Linked DNA regions of Homo sapiens: region 2 is linked to region 1. The links are contacts of gene promoters, found by promoter capture Hi-C in blood cells and fetal thymus (Javierre and others, 2016). All regions are on one chromosome and are shown on one strand. Each heading gives the region's core, a stretch centred on a gene start or on the middle of the fragment in contact. The rest is flanking DNA. Distances are from core to core; before and after follow the strand shown. Region 1 holds the start of FXN (frataxin). Region 2 overlaps PIP5K1B (phosphatidylinositol-4-phosphate 5-kinase type 1 beta).

Evidence for each region. The method cuts DNA at HindIII sites, captures the fragments that hold promoters and counts their contacts. A CHiCAGO score of 5 or more calls a contact.
Region 2: a contact is called between a fragment that was not itself captured here and the fragment with the promoter of FXN in region 1, in 2 of 17 cell types (erythroblasts and megakaryocytes). The highest score is 6.6, in erythroblasts.

Annotation. Positions count from the first base shown.
Region 1 is chr9:69,031,910-69,038,466 of GRCh38, forward strand. FXN (frataxin) reads left to right here and starts at 3,843. Exons shown (of 5, transcript NM_000144.5): 1 at 3,843-4,038. The coding sequence starts at 3,874. RefSeq lists silencers at 3,732-4,201, 4,784-5,078 and an enhancer at 4,362-4,411. The HindIII fragment of the contact is 18,212 bases long and covers 1-6,557 here.
Region 2 is chr9:68,838,404-68,844,960 of GRCh38, forward strand. All of the region lies in intron 4 of PIP5K1B (phosphatidylinositol-4-phosphate 5-kinase type 1 beta), which reads left to right. Among named protein-coding and RNA genes, the nearest start is that of PABIR1, 62 kb to the left of the region's middle. The HindIII fragment of the contact is 3,961 bases long and covers 735-4,695 here.

The DNA of each region.
Region 1 (6,557 bases), core at 2,593-5,092:
AGTTCAAGACCAGCCTGGGCAACATAGTGAGACTCTGTCTCTACCAAAAATTTTTAAAATTTTAAAAATCAGCCAGGTGTGGTTATGCACACCTATAGTCCCAGTTACTTAGGAGGCTGAGGCAGGAGGATCACTTGATTCCAGGAGGTCAAGGCTGCTGTGAGCTATGACCACACCACTGCATTTCAGCCTGGGTAACAGAATGAGACTCTGTTTCAAACAAACAAAAACCCAAAAAAAAAAAAAAGAGAGAGAGAGGGAGTTAGAAGGAAGATGCATCATTTTTATGACCTGGACTTGGAAGTCACCAAGCAGCACTTCTGCAGTACCCTGTTGGTTGGAATAGTTGTAGCCCAAACCCGAATTCGAAGGGAGGAGAATAGATAACATCCCTGGGTGACAGGAATGTCAAAGTCCCAAACAGCATATGACATGTGACAAATATTGGTGTGGCCTTCTTTGGAAGATCCAATCTTCCATACCAGGCAAAGGGATGGAAGACTAAGGAACAACATGAGGGATAGCCAGAGAGGGAAAAAGCATCACTTGTTCTAGGAACTACAAATAGCTTGAAGAAGCAAAGATGTCTAGATGCCTCCCAATATGCAGAGTGGGGTGTACAGAAGAGAGTGGTAAGGGCGCTGGGAGAGCTAAGGTGGGCAAGAGAGCTTCCTCTGTCATGCTAAGAAAGTTGGAATTTATCTTGATGGTGGTGAAAGCAGAGGGCTATGGTTAGATTCACATTTGAGATTTAGATTTTTAGATTTAAAATGATCACCCTGGTGACACTGGCTTAACTCACAATTTTGCCCAAGGCCTATGCTACCACAGTGCTTCTGAAACTTTAAAGCACATTAGAATCACCTGGAGGTCTTGTTAAACCATGGATTGCTGGGCCTTGAAACCCCAGAGATTCTGATTCAGTAGATCGAGAATAGGGCCTGAGAATTTGTATTTCTAACAAGTTTCCAGGTGATGCTGAGGCTGCTGGCCCAGCGACCACATTTGATAATCATAGCCCTCTGATAAATCCTATCAAAATATCCTAATGGCAGAGCAAGGGAATTCTGGTGATATCCTCCCCTACCCATAACCTGACAGCTATTAGGATCTGCCTACTTGAGGCTAAAAGCAACCAAGAGAGGAACAGCTACAGTGTACCACAGAGTCCCTCAACATCTTTGCCCACGCCACGGTGCCCCAGCTTCTTACCAAGTGTGCCTGATTCCTCTTGACTACCTCCAAGGAAGTGGAGAAAGACAAGTTCTTGCGAAGCCTTCGTCTTCTCTGATATGCTATTCTATGTCTATTTCTTTGGCCAAAAAGATGGGGCAATGATATCAACTTTGCAGGGAGCTGGAGCATTTGCTAGTGACCTTTCTATGCCAGAACTTGCTAAGCATGCTAGCTAATAATGATGTAGCACAGGGTGCGGTGGCTCACGCCTGTAATCTCAGCACTTTGGGCGGCCGAGGCGGGCGGATCACCTGAGGTCAGGAGTTCGAGACCAGCCTGGCCAACATGATGAAACCCCATCTCTACTAAAAATACAAAAATTAGCCAGGCGTGGTGGTGGGCACCTGCAATCCCAGCTACTCTGGAGGCTGAGACAGAATCTCTTGAACCCAGGAGGTGGAGATTGCAGTGAGCAGAGATGGCACCACTGCATTCCAGCCTGGGCAACAAAGCAAGACTCTGTCTCAAATAATAATAATAATAATAACTAATGATGCAGCTTTCTCTCTCTGAGTATATAATGCAGTTCTGATGATGTGAGGAAGGGCCTCACTGTTGGTGTGGCAGAGTCTGAGACCATGGCTGGCAATGAAAACACTACCCTTTGATGCCTATGGGCTCTCCCTTTATGGTTTCAAGGAGGGCTTCTCAATCTTGGCAGAATTTTGGACTGGATAGTTCTTTGTTGCACAGGTGGGGGGCTGTCCTGCACATCACAGGATGTTTCATCCCTGGCCTCTACCTACTAGATGCCAGTAGAACATACCCACCCCACAGCTGCCTGTTGTGACAATCAAAAGCATCTCCAGATACTTTGCAGGGGGAAAATGATTTCTCCAGGCCTGGCATATACATAACAGTATTTAAGCAGCTGCCTAGAATTAATTAAACACAGAAGGATGTCTCTCATCCAGAATGCCCTGGACCACCTCTTTGATAGGCAATCAGATCCCACCTCCTCCACCCTATTTTTGAAGGCCCTGTGCCAACACCACTTCTTCCATGAATACTTCCTTGATTCCCCCATCCCTAGCTCTATATAAATCTCCCACTCAACACTCACACCTGTTAGTTTACATTCCTCTTGACACTTGTCATTTAGCATCCTAAGTATGTAAACATGTCTCTCTTCACGATTCACAAAGTGGCTTTGGAAGAACTTTAGTACCTTCCCATCTTCTCTGCCATGGAAAGTGTACACAACTGACATTTTCTTTTTTTTTAAGACAGTATCTTGCTATGATGGCCGGGCTGGAATGCTGTGGCTATTCACAGGCACAATCATAGCTCACTGCAGCCTTGAGCTCCCAGGCTCAAGTGATCCTCCCGCCTCAGCCTCCTGAGTAGCTGAGATCACAGGCATGCACTACCACACTCGGCTCACATTTGACATCCTCTAAAGCATATATAAAATGTGAAGAAAACTTTCACAATTTGCATCCCTTTGTAATATGTAACAGAAATAAAATTCTCTTTTAAAATCTATCAACAATAGGCAAGGCACGGTGGCTCACGCCTGTCGTCTCAGCACTTTGTGAGGCCCAGGCGGGCAGATCGTTTGAGCCTAGAAGTTCAAGACCACCCTGGGCAACATAGCGAAACCCCCTTTCTACAAAAAATACAAAAACTAGCTGGGTGTGGTGGTGCACACCTGTAGTCCCAGCTACTTGGAAGGCTGAAATGGGAAGACTGCTTGAGCCCGGGAGGGAGAAGTTGCAGTAAGCCAGGACCACACCACTGCACTCCAGCCTGGGCAACAGAGTGAGACTCTGTCTCAAACAAACAAATAAATGAGGCGGGTGGATCACGAGGTCAGTAGATCGAGACCATCCTGGCTAACACGGTGAAACCCGTCTCTACTAAAAAAAAAAAAAAATACAAAAAATTAGCCAGGCATGGTGGCGGGCGCCTGTAGTCCCAGTTACTCGGGAGGCTGAGGCAGGAGAATGGCGTGAAACCGGGAGGCAGAGCTTGCAGTGAGCCGAGATCGCACCACTGCCCTCCAGCCTGGGCGACAGAGCGAGACTCCGTCTCAATCAATCAATCAATCAATAAAATCTATTAACAATATTTATTGTGCACTTAACAGGAACATGCCCTGTCCAAAAAAAACTTTACAGGGCTTAACTCATTTTATCCTTACCACAATCCTATGAAGTAGGAACTTTTATAAAACGCATTTTATAAACAAGGCACAGAGAGGTTAATTAACTTGCCCTCTGGTCACACAGCTAGGAAGTGGGCAGAGTACAGATTTACACAAGGCATCCGTCTCCTGGCCCCACATACCCAACTGCTGTAAACCCATACCGGCGGCCAAGCAGCCTCAATTTGTGCATGCACCCACTTCCCAGCAAGACAGCAGCTCCCAAGTTCCTCCTGTTTAGAATTTTAGAAGCGGCGGGCCACCAGGCTGCAGTCTCCCTTGGGTCAGGGGTCCTGGTTGCACTCCGTGCTTTGCACAAAGCAGGCTCTCCATTTTTGTTAAATGCACGAATAGTGCTAAGCTGGGAAGTTCTTCCTGAGGTCTAACCTCTAGCTGCTCCCCCACAGAAGAGTGCCTGCGGCCAGTGGCCACCAGGGGTCGCCGCAGCACCCAGCGCTGGAGGGCGGAGCGGGCGGCAGACCCGGAGCAGCATGTGGACTCTCGGGCGCCGCGCAGTAGCCGGCCTCCTGGCGTCACCCAGCCCAGCCCAGGCCCAGACCCTCACCCGGGTCCCGCGGCCGGCAGAGTTGGCCCCACTCTGCGGCCGCCGTGGCCTGCGCACCGACATCGATGCGACCTGCACGCCCCGCCGCGCAGTAAGTATCCGCGCCGGGAACAGCCGCGGGCCGCACGCCGCGGGCCGCACGCCGCACGCCTGCGCAGGGAGGCGCCGCGCACGCCGGGGTCGCTCCGGGTACGCGCGCTGGACTAGCTCACCCCGCTCCTTCTCAGGGCGGCCCGGCGGAAGCGGCCTTGCAACTCCCTTCTCTGGTTCTCCCGGTTGCATTTACACTGGCTTCTGCTTTCCGAAGGAAAAGGGGACATTTTGTCCTGCGGTGCGACTGCGGGTCAAGGCACGGGCGAAGGCAGGGCAGGCTGGTGGAGGGGACCGGTTCCGAGGGGTGTGCGGCTGTCTCCATGCTTGTCACTTCTCTGCGATAACTTGTTTCAGTAATATTAATAGATGGTATCTGCTAGTATATACATACACATAATGTGTGTGTCTGTGTGTATCTGTATATAGCGTGTGTGTTGTGTGTGTGTGTTTGCGCGCACGGGCGCGCGCACACCTAATATTTTCAAGGCTGGATTTTTTTGAACGAAATGCTTTCCTGGAACGAGGTGAAACTTTCAGAGCTGCAGAATAGCTAGAGCAGCAGGGGCCCTGGCTTTTGGAAACTGACCCGACCTTTATTCCAGATTCTGCCCCACTCCGCAGAGCTGTGTGACCTTGGGGGATTCCCCTAACCTCTCTGAGACGTGGCTTTGTTTTCTGTAGGGAGAAGATAAAGGTGACGCCCATTTTGCGGACCTGGTGTGAGGATTAAATGGGAATAACATAGATAAAGTCTTCAGAACTTCAAATTAGTTCCCCTTTCTTCCTTTGGGGGGTACAAAGAAATATCTGACCCAGTTACGCCACGGCTTGAAAGGAGGAAACCCAAAGAATGGCTGTGGGGATGAGGAAGATTCCTCAAGGGGAGGACATGGTATTTAATGAGGGTCTTGAAGATGCCAAGGAAGTGGTAGAGGGTGTTTCACGAGGAGGGAACCGTCTGGGCAAAGGCCAGGAAGGCGGAAGGGGATCCCTTCAGAGTGGCTGGTACGCCGCATGTATTAGGGGAGATGAAAGAGGCAGGCCACGTCCAAGCCATATTTGTGTTGCTCTCCGGAGTTTGTACTTTAGGCTTGAACTTCCCACACGTGTTATTTGGCCCACATTGTGTTTGAAGAAACTTTGGGATTGGTTGCCAGTGCTTAAAAGTTAGGACTTAGAAAATGGATTTCCTGGCAGGACGCGGTGGCTCATGCCCATAATCTCAGCACTTTGGGAGGCCTAGGAAGGTGGATCACCTGAGGTCCGGAGTTCAAGACTAACCTGGCCAACATGGTGAAACCCAGTATCTACTAAAAAATACAAAAAAAAAAAAAAAAGAAGAAGAAGAAGAAGAAAATAAAGAAAAGTTAGCCGGGCGTGGTGTCGCGCGCCTGTAATCCCAGCTACTCCAGAGGCTGCGGCAGGAGAATCGCTTGAGCCCGGGAGGCAGAGGTTGCATTAAGCCAAGATCGCCCAATGCACTCCGGCCTGGGCGACAGAGCAAGACTCCGTCTCAAAAAATAATAATAATAAATAAAAATAAAAAATAAAATGGATTTCCCAGCATCTCTGGAAAAATAGGCAAGTGTGGCCATGATGGTCCTTAGATCTCCTCTAGGAAAGCAGACATTTATTACTTGGCTTCTGTGCACTATCTGAGCTGCCACGTATTGGGCTTCCACCCCTGCCTGTGTGGACAGCATGGGTTGTCAGCAGAGTTGTGTTTTGTTTTGTTTTTTTGAGACAGAGTTTCCCTCTTGTTGCCCAGGCTGGAGTGCAGTGGCTCAGTCTCAGCTCACTGCAACCTCTGCCTCCTGGGTTCAAGTGATTCTCCTGCCTCAGCCTCCCGAGTAGCTGGGATTATCGGCTAATTTTGTATTTTTAGTAGAGACAGATTTCTCCATGTTGGTCAGGCTGGTCTCGAACTCCCAACCTCAGGTGATCCGCCCACCTCGCCCTCCCAAAGTGCTGGAATTACAGGCGTGAGCCACCGCGTCTGGCCATCAGCAGAGTTTTTAATTTAGGAGAATGACAAGAGGTGGTACAGTTTTTTAGATGGTACCTGGTGGCTGTTAAGGGCTATTGACTGACAAACACACCCAACTTGGCGCTGCCGCCCAGGAGGTGGACACTGGGTTTCTGGATAGATGGTTAGCAACCTCTGTCACCAGCTGGGCCTCTTTTTTTCTATACTGAATTAATCACATTTGTTTAACCTGTCTGTTCCATAGTTCCCTTGCACATCTTGGGTATTTGAGGAGTTGGGTGGGTGGCAGTGGCAACTGGGGCCACCATCCTGTTTAATTATTTTAAAGCCCTGACTGTCCTGGATTGACCCTAAGCTCCCCCTGGTCTCCAAAATTCATCAGAAACTGAGTTCACTTGAAGGCCTCTTCCCCACCCTTTTCTCCACCCCTTGCATCTACTTCTAAAGCAGCTGTTCAACAGAAACAGAATGGGAGCCACACACATAATTCTACATTTTCTAGTTAAAAAGAAAAAAAAATCATTTTCAAC
Region 2 (6,557 bases), core at 1,465-3,964, 190 kb before region 1:
GAGTGCATTCTTTGTACACACAAGTTATTAATAGATACATAAATAAAAATCCCTTGGTCACGTACATTTGGGAAGTGTCACTCTAGTGCTTCCATTAGTATACTGTTGTCTTTTAGCTTGAAACATTATTTTCTGCATTAAGAAAGTTTTTTTCTGCCTCCAATTTTACTAAAACTTTTTTAAAAATCATAATTGAAGGGAGAGGAAGGGAGGGGAGCAAGGGTTGAAAAAACTATTGAATACTGTACTCAGTAATGGGGTGACAGGATTGATTGCACCCCAAACCTCAGCATCGCACATTATACCTGGTAACAAACCTGCACTTGTACCCCTGAATCTAAAATAAAACTTGAAATAAATTTTTTAATTAATTAACTAAAATCTTTATTGAATATTGGCTTTTTCATATAATTTAAGCTGACCATGGAAAGGCAATTATTGTAAACACAGTTAGCTTTTTGAGATACTCCAAGTACTAGCAAATAATAAAATCATGTTTCTCTTAAAATATTATTTAATTCAGATTTTATATCAGTTTAGATGAATGGGATCATTTTATTTCCTTATAGTTTGGAGAATGTCTTAAAATTTCTTCCTATGGGTCTACTGATCACTTCCCCATACCAGAGTAATGTGTGGAAATTATCTTAAGAGTTAGTGCTTTTTGCAAGTTATTTTGGGGTGGGCAGTTTGTTGAAATCATTGAGAAATTTTGGTTTTGGCAGAGGGGAAAAAGCTTGTGTTTCTTTTGCCTGAAAGTCTGTGCTTTTTCATCTCTGTTTTCCTTTTATTGAGAATTTTAATGTAATTTCATGTTATATTTGGGCCTATGCTTCTTCATTTGCAAAATTTGGGGTGTGGTTGACTGCTAAATGCCATTGAAGTCTCTTGATTTCTTGGTGGTGGTGGTTTTGTTTGTTTTATTCTGTGATCATCTCTTGCAGCAGTCATTTTATGAAGGCCAGGCAGGATGCCTTGGGACGGGGAAAGAGAAGAAGGTAAAGAGTGGGGAGAAGGTTACATCTCCTTTCGAGAAAACCTGAGTTGGTTTCCCTTTGGTGCAAAGGCAATAATATCTTGCATATTTTCCCACCCTCCCTTAAACACCCTGTGGATTAGGAACTCAAATGACTCTATAGGTTTAGGAAGATTAATCCTCTGTGGGAAAAAGTAGAGATTTTCTCCCCCTTTTCTATGTTCTTGGCAAAGTGAATACAACAGAAAATTATCAAAATCTGTCATGAGAGTTTGAATTTAGGAAAATTAACTTGAATGTGTATAAAACATGACACTGTGCTGCCATCCCACCGGCCCTTCAAGCCTAGGGGAGCCCTGATGTAACCAGAGCCTGAGATGGAGACGTCTTGCAGAAAGAGGAGGAGAAATGCCAGGGTGCTGTATTCCTGTTAGGTCCAGCCATGGTCGTCTCCATTCCAGAGAGGTCATGACAAGACCATTTTCTACCCAGATGGCCAAGTGTGTACTCTTCCTTGTTATAAACTCATCACCCATTCATTTATTCAACAAATTGTCCTCTAGGACCACTTTCTGGGACCACACAGATGCAAGCCAGTCTCCTTCATTTCAACCCAGTGCCAATTAGCATCAACTCTTGGGGCTAGTGGGATAAAGAGTGAAAATGTTCGGGTGCCTCAAGTAAACAGGACCTAAAAGTATTGAAAGTATTTCACGGCCCGGCACAGTGGCACATGCCTGTAATCCCAGCACGTTGGGAGGCCAAGGCGGGCAGATCACCTGAGGTCAGGAGTTTGAGACTAGCCTGACCAACATGGTGAAACCCCGTCTCTACTAAAAATACAAAAATTAGCCGGGCATGGTGGCGCATGCCTGTAATCCCAGCTACTTGGGAGGCTGAGGCAGGAGAATCGCTTGAACCCAGGAGGCGGAGGTTGTAGTGAACTGAGATCGCGCCATTGCACTCCAGCCTGGGCAACAGGAATGAAACTCCATCTCAAAAAAAAAAAAAAGAAAATATTTCACACTTGCTATATGTATTAGTTTCTTATTGCTGCAGTCGCAAATTACTGCAAACTTAGGGACTTAAAAACATTTATTATGTTATAGTTCTGTAGAACAGACATTTAGTATTCTTCTGGCTGGGCTAAAATCAAGGTGTCAGTGTGGCTGTGTTCCTTATGGAGGCTCTAGGAGAGAAGCCTTTTCCACAGGGGCCACTTACATTTCTTGGCTCATGGCCGCTTCCTTCACCTTTAAAGCCAACAATGGCAGATTGAGTCCCTCTTACATTATGTCTCACTCACCCGCTCCTTTGCCTCTTCTTTTTTTAACTCTTAACAACCCATATTATTACATTAGGCCCACCTGGACAGTCTAGGACAATCTCCCTAACTCAAGATCAGCTGTTCATCAACCTTGATCGTATTTGCAACCTTGTAAAGTAACATTATATTTTGCCTTCTAAGGTTACATATTTGCTGGCTCTAGAGGTTAGGATGTGGACATCTTTGGGAGACATTGTTCTGTCTGCCACCATATAATTTCACAATGTCCTCCTCTGTGCATCTGCAGCTCTTTGTTATGCCTTTGTCATTACTGTCAGTCTGTCTGGTACTCTCAGTAGATACCAACTGTGATCCTGAGGTGTAGACATCACTGTCTCAGGTCTGTATTTCCTTCTCCTCTTCTCTTTCCCTTTTCTACTTCACTCCTTCCATAAAATCGATGTGCTCAATAAATGTACCTTCAATACCTAAGTCTCCCTGTAATCAACTTACATAAATAAGAAATCACTTTCTGGGACATAAACATGAACCTGGCTTCAAATGCAACACGTTGTGACTGAAAAGCAAATGTGGCTCAGGTTACTACTGTTAACATGAAGCAATTCATGTTTGAACAGAATTTTCAAAATCAAATTTTGAACTCACTGCTGGAGACGATGTGGCCCCCTTCATTTCCTGGATTATTATGCATCTCCCACAGAACCATTTGCTATATTATTTCTTTGGTGTTTACAGAAGCAGATCATGTTTATGAAGCATGTCCAGAAGAAGGAAATGATATATGGAAAATCTCTACGTGGGGTATAGAGTCAAGTGATCCCTAGGTTACAGTTGAGAGCTATAAATAGGCCAGTGACTTCATGTGTACCATGGGACTGGTATTTTCCATCTTTCGTCCCACAGTTTGGATAAACTTAGATGGATTTTTTAATAGTTCTTTGAAAATGGAACATTAGCTATCCACAGAGATTTAACTTGGGACAAAAAAAAGGAATAAAAGTCATCATTTCTGATGACAGGATTAGACAGACCTTTTTTCTTGAAAGTAATTGAATATTCTGTGTGTTTTTTGCAGTTTCTGTTGAATTGAGAATAGTGACCATCATTTGAGGTGGAAATAGCAGAAATGATTAATTTAGAAAGAAGAAGGATTGTAGGGTGGGTGGAAGTGGCATTTTCTGCATTGTATTCTTAGAAACTTAGACTGTTAGAGTTGGAAGTGCTCTGATAAAACCGTTCTTTAACATACGAGAAAACAGAGGCCCAAATACCTTAAGTCCCTTGTCCAAGAGTATGCTGAGTGCAGAAAGCCACACTGTGGCTCAGGTCCTGGGCCCTGGCCCTCAGCGTTTCTCAGCCCACTGCACTCATCTCCAGCACTTCTGATGGACTCACTGGGGTGACACCATCAAACCATGTGCCCCAAAGATGCCTTCATGTTGGTTTCCACTTGGGCATTTCTCATGCTTGGATGGCTAATATACTCCCTGCCTGGTTTACTCTTGAGAACCCGGCTTTCATCTGCTGTGGGACACAGTAGCCTTTGCGTGAGTGCCTACGTGCACATGTGTCCATGGAGGCAGGGAGGGTGGACAGGCAGGGAGGGTGGACAGTGGTACACACACTGCACCAGCAGCACTTTTAAAGACAAGGATCATGACAAAAGCAACAGCAAGTGCACTTTCTTTTCCAAATTACCCAAGGTTGTTTTTTAAAAATAGTAATATCACTTCAAGTGTTTTGCACTTGGCTTGGTGAAACAAAATGTGAGTTAAAACTGTGGAGTATTAAAGCATTATTCTTGACACACCTACAATATGAGACACTCCATTGATGTGGATAGCATATATGCAGACAACAAGCATTGATGTTGTACTTCCACCTATAGATAGAAGGGGGATGTACCTTGGTATGGGAGTTTTGCACTTAGACAAAGTCTTAGTTCTCAACCAGAGCTGATTTTGCTCACCACCCCTCCAGAGGGCATTTATTACTGTCTGCAGGTATTTTTGGTTTTTATGTCTGGAGGAAGTGGTGCTACAGGCACCATTTGTAAAGACCGGGGATGCTGCTGAACATCCTACAATGGACAGCTCCACACATCAAAGAAGTCTCGAATCCAAAATGTCAATAGTGCCAAAGTTGAGAAATCCTGGCCTACAGGAATTTATGACTTATCTGATACTGGGCTTTGAAGGCTATATAGACAGTTGATTAATTTAGAAACAGCTTGGCTTGTGGAATAAACATACCTGGTATAGTCTGTGAACTGAAGTGAGCCAAGGTGGTCCCAGTATTGCTTCCACACTTGCTGTCTCAGATCTCTGTTCTCAGTGACCAGAGTTAAAAACCAGCTTCCCTCTGCCCTTCACGTCTGTGGGTCCTATGGTTGAGGATTTTTATGTATTGTTTTTCTTTGGGGTCCTGATAAAGCTTAGATAACCAAACATAGAATTTTTAAAGGTGATTGTGAATACAAAGAACTAAGGAGTGCCTTACCCTGATCCATTCTTTACACAAGCAGCCCCAGTCAGGGAACCCTATGCCAGGGGAGGAATTGGGCCTCAGCATGGACAAGTCTTGGCAAAGACCGCTATGGCAGCAGTGTCTGAAAAAGGAAAAGAGTCCAAGGAGGGAGGAAATGACTAGGAGGCTGCTAGAGCCTTCCCTCAGCGCCATGTTCTACTCACAGACCAATGTAGTAAAAATGATTTGTATTTCCTTGTTCCTTTTTAAATTTTTGAAAAAAAATTTCCATATTTGGGGGTTTTCCCCATTGCCAGGTGGTTACATTCCAAAGAAATTATATCATGGGATACAGACACAAGTATTTCCAATCATGCTTATTGTGTAGGGCTGATGGCAAGGTGATTCCCCTCCATGGCCACACATCATAACCAGGCAAGCCCGTTAAGTATCAGCAACTGGAAGTCCAGCATCAGGACCACCCATCCCTCTGTCAGGCAGCCCCGGTTGGTGGTGGTAAATGGAGGAGACTGAGGCCTCTTTCACTCACTTAAATTCGGAGAGTGAGCCACTCTACTCCTGTTGGGAAAACCTATTTCCTTACCCAACGAGACTGTAGAAAATTCCCCTCAGCCATATACCATGCCAGGTTTCTTTTACAAGCCAACCTGTTTCCAAGCAACCCTTCTTGTAACCTTCTGGAGCCAAGTATCTGATATTCGTACTGGGAGAAAGATGAACGGATTCTGCACAGACACGGGCCCTGCCAACATGGGCCTGGGAAGAGGGGAAGCTGGATGTGTGGCTCAGGAGACAGGCAGAGGTTGTTAGAGGAAGCACAGAATACTGGAGGTGAAGATAAAGTCAGTAGTTGGCCAGGCCTTTTGTGCAACGGACTCAAGAAACATGTAAGAGAACAAAACATTTTTAGACTGATAACTGATTACTTGTGTACATCTTGAAAGTTGGCTGCTGCAGGGCCTAAACAAGAGAGAGGCCTTACAGTAGGGGTTATGTGTCCATAGGCTCATGGAAGCTTGGCATTGAGATGATCTTCATTCATTCAATATCATCTACTCAGTCATTCAGCCAACACTGAGTTAAGCTCTGAGCAAGGCATTGTAGTTAGATGGCAGATAGGTTAGCGTTGTTGGAAAGAGTGTGGGGTCAGAGGTCTGGGCTGCAGAAACCCACCACAGTTTCCTCTAATCATGCCTGGGAAGGGGGAACCAAGGGGGAAGGAAGCAGCCCTCTATTGAGCAATCAACTATGCATCGGGCACTTCCACTTGTGTTGTAGCAGCAGGAGCCAATAATCGTGCATTTGGGACTGGGCCACTAGAAGACTGGCTTGTTGGGATCAAGTCAAGGGGTTCTTGGAAACCTGCTGAGAACAGGCCCATCACCTGACAGCCCAGAAAGATGTCCGAGTCTGGTGGCCAGATCCAATGGGGGAGATCCAGTGGGGGAGATCCAATGGGGGAGATCTAATGGGGGAGAGCCAAAGGTGTTTGTTGGTAGCTCTGACACCAACTTTTATGACCTGGGCAACAACCAAAACAATTTAATAACGCTCTCTCAGAGTTCAAGAGAAAAGGACTAAACAGAAATAAGCAGCAGCCCAGCCTCTACCCAGCTGGTACTCCTGGAAATTGCACATGGGTGAAGCAAGGCTGCTTCCTCCTGCTCCACTTGTGAGAAAAATGACTGCCTGTTCTCCTTTCTCAGTATCGGTCTCTAAGAGTTGTAATCCAAAGAAGGCAAAATACAATTACTTTCTGTTGCATTTTTAGAGCAGCAACTGTAAGTGGGAGGGAAAAAAAAACAG